Linked DNA regions of Homo sapiens: region 2 is linked to region 1. Evidence: promoter capture Hi-C in human tissues and cell types (Jung and others, 2019). All regions are on one chromosome and are shown on one strand. The core of a region is centred on a gene start or on the middle of the fragment in contact, and the rest is flanking DNA. Distances in the headings are between cores, read along the strand shown.

Evidence for each region. The method cuts DNA at HindIII sites, captures the fragments that hold promoters and counts their contacts. A contact is called where the count stands out against the background at its distance.
Region 2: a contact is called between a fragment that was not itself captured here and the fragment with the promoter of ZSCAN4 in region 1, in 1 of the 25 tissues and cell types used here (spleen).

What each region holds. Positions count from the first base shown.
Region 1 is chr19:57,666,797-57,670,851 of GRCh38, reverse strand. It overlaps ZSCAN4 (zinc finger and SCAN domain containing 4), which reads right to left and starts at 1,917. Exons shown (of 5, transcript NM_152677.4): 1 at 1,649-1,917; 2 at 285-607. The HindIII fragment of the contact is 8,369 bases long and covers 1-4,055 here.
Region 2 is chr19:57,414,224-57,418,278 of GRCh38, reverse strand. ZNF17 (zinc finger protein 17) reads right to left here. Exons shown (of 4, transcript NM_001330617.2): 3 at 241-367. Among named protein-coding and RNA genes, the nearest start is that of ZNF17, 5.1 kb to the right of the region's middle. The HindIII fragment of the contact is 5,457 bases long and covers 1-4,055 here.

The DNA.
Region 1 (4,055 bases), core at 668-3,167:
AGTCATACGATAGACTTTTTGAAGAAAAATCTTCAGTCACACCAGGCCTTTATACAGAGTTCACAACATCAAGCCCTTTTGGGTCAGAGCTGTTGTAACAAAAGACCATTCCCTACACCTGGGAGACCCCCATATCTCTGTAGTTAGGAATTTTCCTGAAATAGCTATGCCTACATACACATGTATACACACTCAAAGACACAAAATTATGTATACACACTCAAAGACACAAAATGTATACACACTCAAAGGCACAAAATTTTCCTTCCATTATGGAAGCTTACCTCCTTGGTTGACTGGGTAATCCCGGGCCGAACACTGAGCTGATGTGTGACTAGCTTTCCACACTGGGTTTATCTGATGTGCCTCCTAAGGCTGCTCCCTTTTATAGGGGCTGGGATCAGTGATTGATTTAAAGACGTGATTGGATAACACTTGTCTGTTGATTGAATTACTGATGGAATCTTCATCCAGCCCCAGCTCCATGTCAGTGATTGATTTAAAGACGTGATTGGATAACACTTGTCTGTTGATTGAATTACTGATGGAATCTTCATCCAGCCCCAGCTCCATGTCTCTAATACAGTGTTCTATACCATCACTGGTCCTGGGTCAACAGGTCATAAACAAACACATTAATATTTCTGCAGGCTAGGTGCAGTGGCTCACACCTGTAATCTCAGCACTTTGGGAGGCTGAGGCAGGCAGATCACCTGAGATCAGGAGTTCAAGACCAGCCTGGCCAACATGGTGAAACCCTTTCTCTACTAAAAATACAAAAATTAGCCGGGCATGGTGGTGGGCACCTGTAATCCCAGCTACTTGGGAGGCTGAGGCAGGAGAATTACTTGAACCTGGGAGGCAGAGGCTAGAGTGAGCCAAGATTGCGCCACTGCATTCCAGCCTGGGAGACAGAGCAAGACTCTGTGAATCCCTAGCCTGAGCAACAAAGCAAGACCCTGTCTCTACCAAAAATAATGTTAAAAATGTTAGCCAGGCATGGTGGCATGTCTGTGTAGCTTGTTTGAGCCAGGGAGTTCATGGCTACAGTGGATTATGACCGCCCTACTGAACTCTGGCCTGGGAAATGGAAGGAGACCAAGTCTCTAAAAAAAAAACAAAACAAAACGAACAAAAAAAAAACCATGCCTGTAATCCCAGCACTTTTGGAGGCCGAGGTGGGCGGATCACGAGGTCAAGAGTTCGAGACCAGCCTGGCCAATATGGTGAAACCCCATCTCTACTAAAAATGCAAAAATTAGCCAGGCGTAGTGGCGCGTGCCTGTAGTCCCAGCTATTCAGGAGGCTGAGCAGAAGAATTGTTTGAACCACAGAGGCGGAGGTTGCAGTGAGCTGAAATTGTGCCACTGCACTGCAGCCTGGGCGACAGAGGTAGACTGTCTCAAAAACCAACAAACAAACAAACACACACAAAAATACAAAATCTGCGGTAAAATGTAACAAGGTCCACATTAAATGAAAATATAAAGACAGGCTGGGTGTGGTGGCTCGCGCCTGTAATCCCAGCACTTTGGGAGGCCGAGGCAGGTGGATCATGAGGTCAGGAGTTTGAGACCAGCCTGACCAACATGGTTAAACCCGGTTTCTATTAAAAATACAAAAATTATCTGGGCGTGGTAGCATGCACCTGTAATCCCAGCTACTCAGGAGGCTGAGGCAGAAGAATTGTTTGAATCCAGGAGGCAGAGGTTGCAGTGAGCCGAGATTACGCCACGGCACTCCAGCCTGGACGACAGAGCGAGACTGTGTCTCAAAAAAAAAAAAAAAAAAAAGGAAAATATAAAGACAAACGTTAGTCTCACAAATTCTGATCAAGTTTTATTATAAATTACTCATAGAAACATGACAAACTTTTGCTCAAACTTTTAAGTTTTCAGAGATTTATGAATTACAAGGGTGGCAGAGGGCAAGGCTAATGCTGTGACTCCTGTGCCAATTCCAGGCTGGTGAAACAGAGGGGGCCCGGGACCCAGAGAAGGCATTCCTAATCCATCAAAAAGATGACAGGGGTTGAGACTAGGATTATATCAGTGGAAAGGGAGAAATTGGTGCATATTTTATATTGAGAAAGCATATGATGTTTGATAGACTTAACATGAGGCTTGAGAGAGATGGAGGAGTTAAAATGGTGAGAAGCGCCTGGTCACCTAGTGTGGTGGAAGCTGTGCCTTCTTCCCTGCACTCTCCCTCCCCACTTTCCACCCTCATACAGGCTGAGGCTTTGGTGGAGTTGAGAACGTATCGAAGGGGTGGGAGCTAATTACAGCCATGTGTTTCATCTGCTCCATCAGGCATGCAGCCTCTTGGGGCTTAGATTGTCCCCCTATCACTGTTGGGTACAGAGTTTGAATCTCCTGGTACTCCACTGATGAAATGTCTGCTTGACTTCCCCACATTAGGAATTATGTTCTGAATCCTCACATTATAAGACTGTGTACTAGTCCATTTCTCCAAGGAGTTTCATCCACATATACTCCATACAGAGAAGTATCCCTGCTCCCATCAAGAGCCAATTTTCCACTGGTGGTTTAGGTCCTGTCACCAACTATGTCATTAAACCAACTGTGACAGGAAAATTGGCTCTTGATGGAAGCAGGGATACTTCTCTGCTACAACAATGAAAAATGGGCTGGGCGCAGTGGCTCATGCCTGTAATCCCAGCACTTTGGGAGGCCGAGGCGGGTGGATCACCTGAGGTCAGGAGTTTGAGACCAGCCTGGCCAACATGATGAAACCTCGTCTCTACTAAAAAAATACAAAAATTAGCCAGGCATGGTGGCAGGCACCTGTAATCCCAAGTACTCGGGAGCCTGAGGCAGGAGAATCACTTGAACCTGGGAGGCCGAGGTTGCAGTGAGCCAAGATCGCACCACTGCTCTCCAGCCTGGGCGACAGAGTGAGACTCTGTCTCAAAAACAAACAAACAAACAAACAAAAAACAAACAAAAAAAAAACAATGAAAAATGTAGACAATGTGAGTACCACTGGAGGCCAGTTGTTAATTTGTGGTGGGTTGAAAGCATTTCCTGTCTGCTTCTGCAGTCTCAAGGAGTTCCTTGAGCTCTGTAAGGAGCTGTAAGGAAAAGGTTTGGGGAAAAGCTGGCAATTTCTGTTTGGAGGAGGTTATTGGATTTTTGAGTTCAGATATACAGCCAGCTGTTGGACATGCTGGTGTGTAACTCTGGGAGCAGTTAGACCTGAGGCACGATGATATCAGTAAGAGTAGTAATAGCATCAGGGATCATAATAACTAACCTTTAAGCAGTCAGGGCATATTTGACTCTGTTCTCAGTGCTTTCTGTATGTTAACCCATTTCCATCACAACAGTCCTGTAAAGTAGATCCTAAATAACTCCATTTTAACATCAAAATAACAGAGGCACAGAGAAGTTCAGTACCTTGGCCAGTGCTACATAGCCTGTAAGTGGCTGGGCTAGGATTTGATACCTGGCTCCAGAGTGGGACTCTGAATGCTACATTAAGAAGGCAAAGACACACAGCCACTGTGTAAAACCAGCAGCTTTCTAGGGAATGGGCTAATGGAGGAGTGAAGGGCATGAGCAGGAGGATTTATCCTTGGGGAAACACAGATGGTGGAGGAAATGACCTGGTGATACCCCAACTTAGGCATAGAATAAACAGGCACAAAACAATAAAAATAAATGTGAAATCCACATAGTAATTTAATCAAATAAGGATATTACAAAGACAACTATCAAATGCTTTTCTGATCAATTGGGAAGGCAGGTAGTGCTGCCTTTGGTAAAAATAGATGACCCGTTTACATCCAGCATCATCTCAACTTGTGTCTGGTGAGTATCCCCGCTCCAGTGTGAGTGAGGAAAATAACCTTTGTTTCCAAGAAGACAAAGCCAATCCGCCTCAGTATGTAGGAAACAGTGATTTCAATTAGAATAATAATAATAATAATAAAAACCTGGTAGGAAAATAAACAAAACTGTTAACTTTCTATTTTTTTCGAGACAAAGTCTTGCTCTGTCGCCCAGGCTGGAGTGCAGTGGCACGATCTTGGC
Region 2 (4,055 bases), core at 737-3,236, 250 kb after region 1:
TTGAGAAACCTGAGGACTTCTGACTTTTGAGCCTTATAAGGCTTCAGAGTGACAAGAGCTAAGCTTCTTAAGGAAAATTGATACAGATCACACAGCCCAGCTGTAGCTGCCACAACACATATGCCAGGAAACCAGGAGAGGATGCAGCATCCATGACCTGGTGTGAGACGGAGATGCCAAGGAAAAAAGTGAAAAAACATTGCCCAGCACAAGACACTGACGTAGGTGTCAGGGCCTTACCTACTGAGGACAAAAGTGCAAAGTTCTCCAGCATCACATCGCTGTGCAGGTGTCTCTGAACGTCATTAAGAATTCCCCACTCCTCCTGGGAGAAATGTATGGCCACGTCCTCAAAAACCATATAATCCTGCCAAAATTATAACAGTTTAGTCTGTGAGCAACTTTTTTTTTCTTTCTTTTTTTTTTTTTTTTTGAGATGGAGTCTCGCTCTGTTGCCAGGCTGGAGTGCAGTGGTGTGATCTCGGCTCACTGCAAGCTCCGCCTCCCGGATTCAAGTGATTCTCCTGCCTCAGCCTCCTGAGTAGCTGGGATTACAGGCGCGTGCCACCATGACTGGCTAATTTTTGTATTTTTAGTAGAGATGGGGTTTCACCATGTTGTTCAGGCTGGTCTAGAACTCCTGACCTCGTGAACTGCCTGCCTTGGCCTCCCAAATTGCTGGGATTACAGGCATGAGCCACCACGCCCGGCCCATGAGCAACTTCTTATTCTGTTTCCTTAGATCTGTATTTATCTACTTGAAATCTAAGAATTAGAGGACCAAAATAACAACCAGCATTTTAACATTTCTCTTATAATCCAGATCCCATAGACTGAACTGCCTCCTATCTAACAATCACACATGATTCTTTCTCCTGCCCTAAATCAACACAAGGCTTGTACCACAAAAGGAGGGATAGTCCCTATACCCCAAGGCTGCCAAAATCATGCAAACTACCCAGTCTTAAGCTCTTCACTCTCCCCTGCATGCCTTTCCAGCCAAAACCCCAATAAAGCCACTGATATATGCTCTCCCTTCAACTGTGCATCTGCCACCTGACCAAATCCGCTATTTCCTCTGTGGCTTTATGTGATGTGGCATGCTCCCTGCACTCAGGAAATGAAAGGAATAAAAATCATTTCATCCAGGTATGATTTCTCACCAATTGAAAAAAAAAATTATTTCAATGTCATTGGCTTTTCTGTAATCACTCACTCTTGTTCACAGATTGAAATCCTGTGGGTACAATCACTGATACACTTCCCTCTCCAGGACCTTCAGTGCTCCTCACCACACCCACACACATCCACACCCTGCTAGCCTCCACCCACTTCTGAAGGAGGAAGAGACACTAGGTCTTCATGGCACCTGTACCTGCTCTCCCCTCATTGCCACTGATCACTGACTCCAGTATAGAACAAAGATGGGTGGGGGAAAGAGACTGAAAAGCGCCATCAAAACCTGGCACATGGCCGGGCATGGTGGCTCATGCCTCTAATCCCAGCACTTTGGGAGGCTGAGGCAGGTAGATCACAAGGTTAGGAGTTCAAGACCTGCCTGGCCAAGATAGTAAAACCCCATCTCTACTAAAAATACAAAAATTAGCCGGGCATGGTGGCAGGCACCTGTAATCCCAGCTACTCGGGAGGCTGAGGCAGAGTACTGCTTGAACCTGGGAGGCAGAGGTTGCAGTGAGCCGAGATCGCGCCACTGCACTCCATCCTGGGCAACAGAGCTAGACTCCATCTCAAAAAACAAAACAAAACAAAAAAAACACCTGGCACATGGGGGCCTACCTTTCTTTTGTCACTCAATTTCCCTAGAGTCACCCAGATCTTGCCTCTCAGATAACCAAACTTGGACTCACCCTCCTCCCTTAAGTGCCCAGTGCCAGAGGTGGAACCATCTATTCATGCTCCTCCACTCAGGCTTTGGATGGCACCTCCCTCATGTATCCAACACCTCCACTCTTGGCAACACTAACAACCACCACAGCCCAACTGGGAGTATTTCCATGGCGTGTTACCATGCCACTCTGCACATGAAATCCTGCAGTGCATGACAAATGCAACCAGAATCGTATTTGCCCCTAGAATGACCAGAATGCAATGTTTAGGAAACATTGCTTTGAACGTCTCCCAACCCAATCCTGTTTCTTTCTTTGACCTCAGCTTTCCAAACCCACATATTCTTGCACACCTCCTTTGAGTTCCAGATCTTGGCTGTCTCCCCCTTCTACATGTATATGTTGTCCCATAAGCAGTCACGACTTTCTCTATCCCCCAACTCTAATCCAAAGCCCAGATACACTGACCTCCCCAACACCATCCCCACCCCAGGACTAGCAATGCTTCTAGATGATCCCATCTTCTGCCAAAATAGTCTCAGAGTTCGCGTGAAACTACCCAGGTACAACCAATATTTGCCACAAAACCCTGTTGAGTCCATAATAGGGTACTAAGCCCCTCCCAGACCTCACTATCATCTCACCTCTTTTGTGGAGATGCCTCACCATCCAACTTTTATGTGCACTCTCCCCCTCAAAAGCCTTTATTTTCCAAAGGCCATCTCCAACATAAACACACAAATACACACACACATATCCTCAGTCCATCCACTCCCTCATCTGTCTTTGTGATGCCCAGCAACCCCATCCAGGTGCCCAACAGAAAGATCCAGTCCTCAGCCCCTTCCTTCCCCTTCCTTCTCCCTAACAGCATTGCCTCCAGAATCTAAAGATGTCTATTCCTAAATCTGACCCACAGATTTACCATGGTGTACACGCTGGCTATCATATAGTAGATGTCTCCATCCTGAACACCTCCATTGAACTCCATTCCTGTGTGTTCAACTGCCAGTCTGGCACCTCTACTCGAGTCTCTGGAACATTTTTGACTTAGCCCAAACCTCGTTCTTCATATGCTCTATTAAACTCCCCCTACTACAAAATTTACCACATCTTAGTTGCTGGAACATCCAACCTTCTCAACAAGGCCAAAACAATGGGGCCATTCCTGACTCCCTCTTGCATCCTACCTCCCGAGCTTCCTCGCTCTGTACATCAAAAAATGTGAGCAGCTCTAGATCAAAACCTACAGAAGCCACCCACCCCTCCCACCTCCACAGCCGCCACTCGTGTCCAGCCACCACCAACCTCCACTGGACTGTGGCAGGAATTATCACCCAGGTATCCTTGGTTCTTCCCTAACTCTCACTCTGTCCTCCATTCTGCAGGCAGAGGAAGCCTCTTAGAATCTAGGTCAAATCTGGCTGGGTGCAGTGGCTCAGGCCTGTAATTCCAGCACTTTGGGAGGCTGAGGCGGGCAGATCATGAGGTCAGGAGATCGAGACCATCCTAACACGGTGAAACCCTGGCTCTACTAAAAAATACAAAAAAAAGTTAGCCGGGCATGATGGCAGGTGCCTGTAATCCCAGCTACTTGGGAGGCTGAGGCAGGAGAATGGCGTGAACCCAGGAAGCGAAGCTTGCAGTGAGCCGAGTTCACGCCACTGCACTCTGGCCTGGGCGACAGAGGGAGACTCCGTCTCAAAAAAAAAAAAAAAGAATCTAGGTCAAATCACCTCTTTTTTCTTTCTCAAACCTTCCCTAGCTACTACCCCCCTCAGATTAAAGACCTAGAACCACTGGGCACGGTGGCTCATACCTGTAATCCCAGCACTTTGGGAGGCTGAGGCAGGCAGATCACTTGAGGCCAGGAGTTCGAGACCAGCCTGGCCAACATGGTGAAATCCTGTCTCTACTAAAAATACAAAAATTAGCTGGGTGTGTTGGTTCATGCCTGTAATCCCAGCTACTTGGAAGGCTGAGGCAGGAGAATTGCTTGAACCTGGGAGACAGAGGTCGCAATGATCCGAGATCACATCAATGCACTCCCGCCTGGGCGACAGAGTTAGCCTCTGTCTGGAAAAAAAAAAAAAAACAAGGCCAGGTGTGGTGGCTCAAGCCTGTAATCCCAGCACCTTGGGAGGGCCGAGGCAGGCAGATCACGAGGTCAAGAGATTGAGAACATCCTGGCCAACATGGTGAAACCCC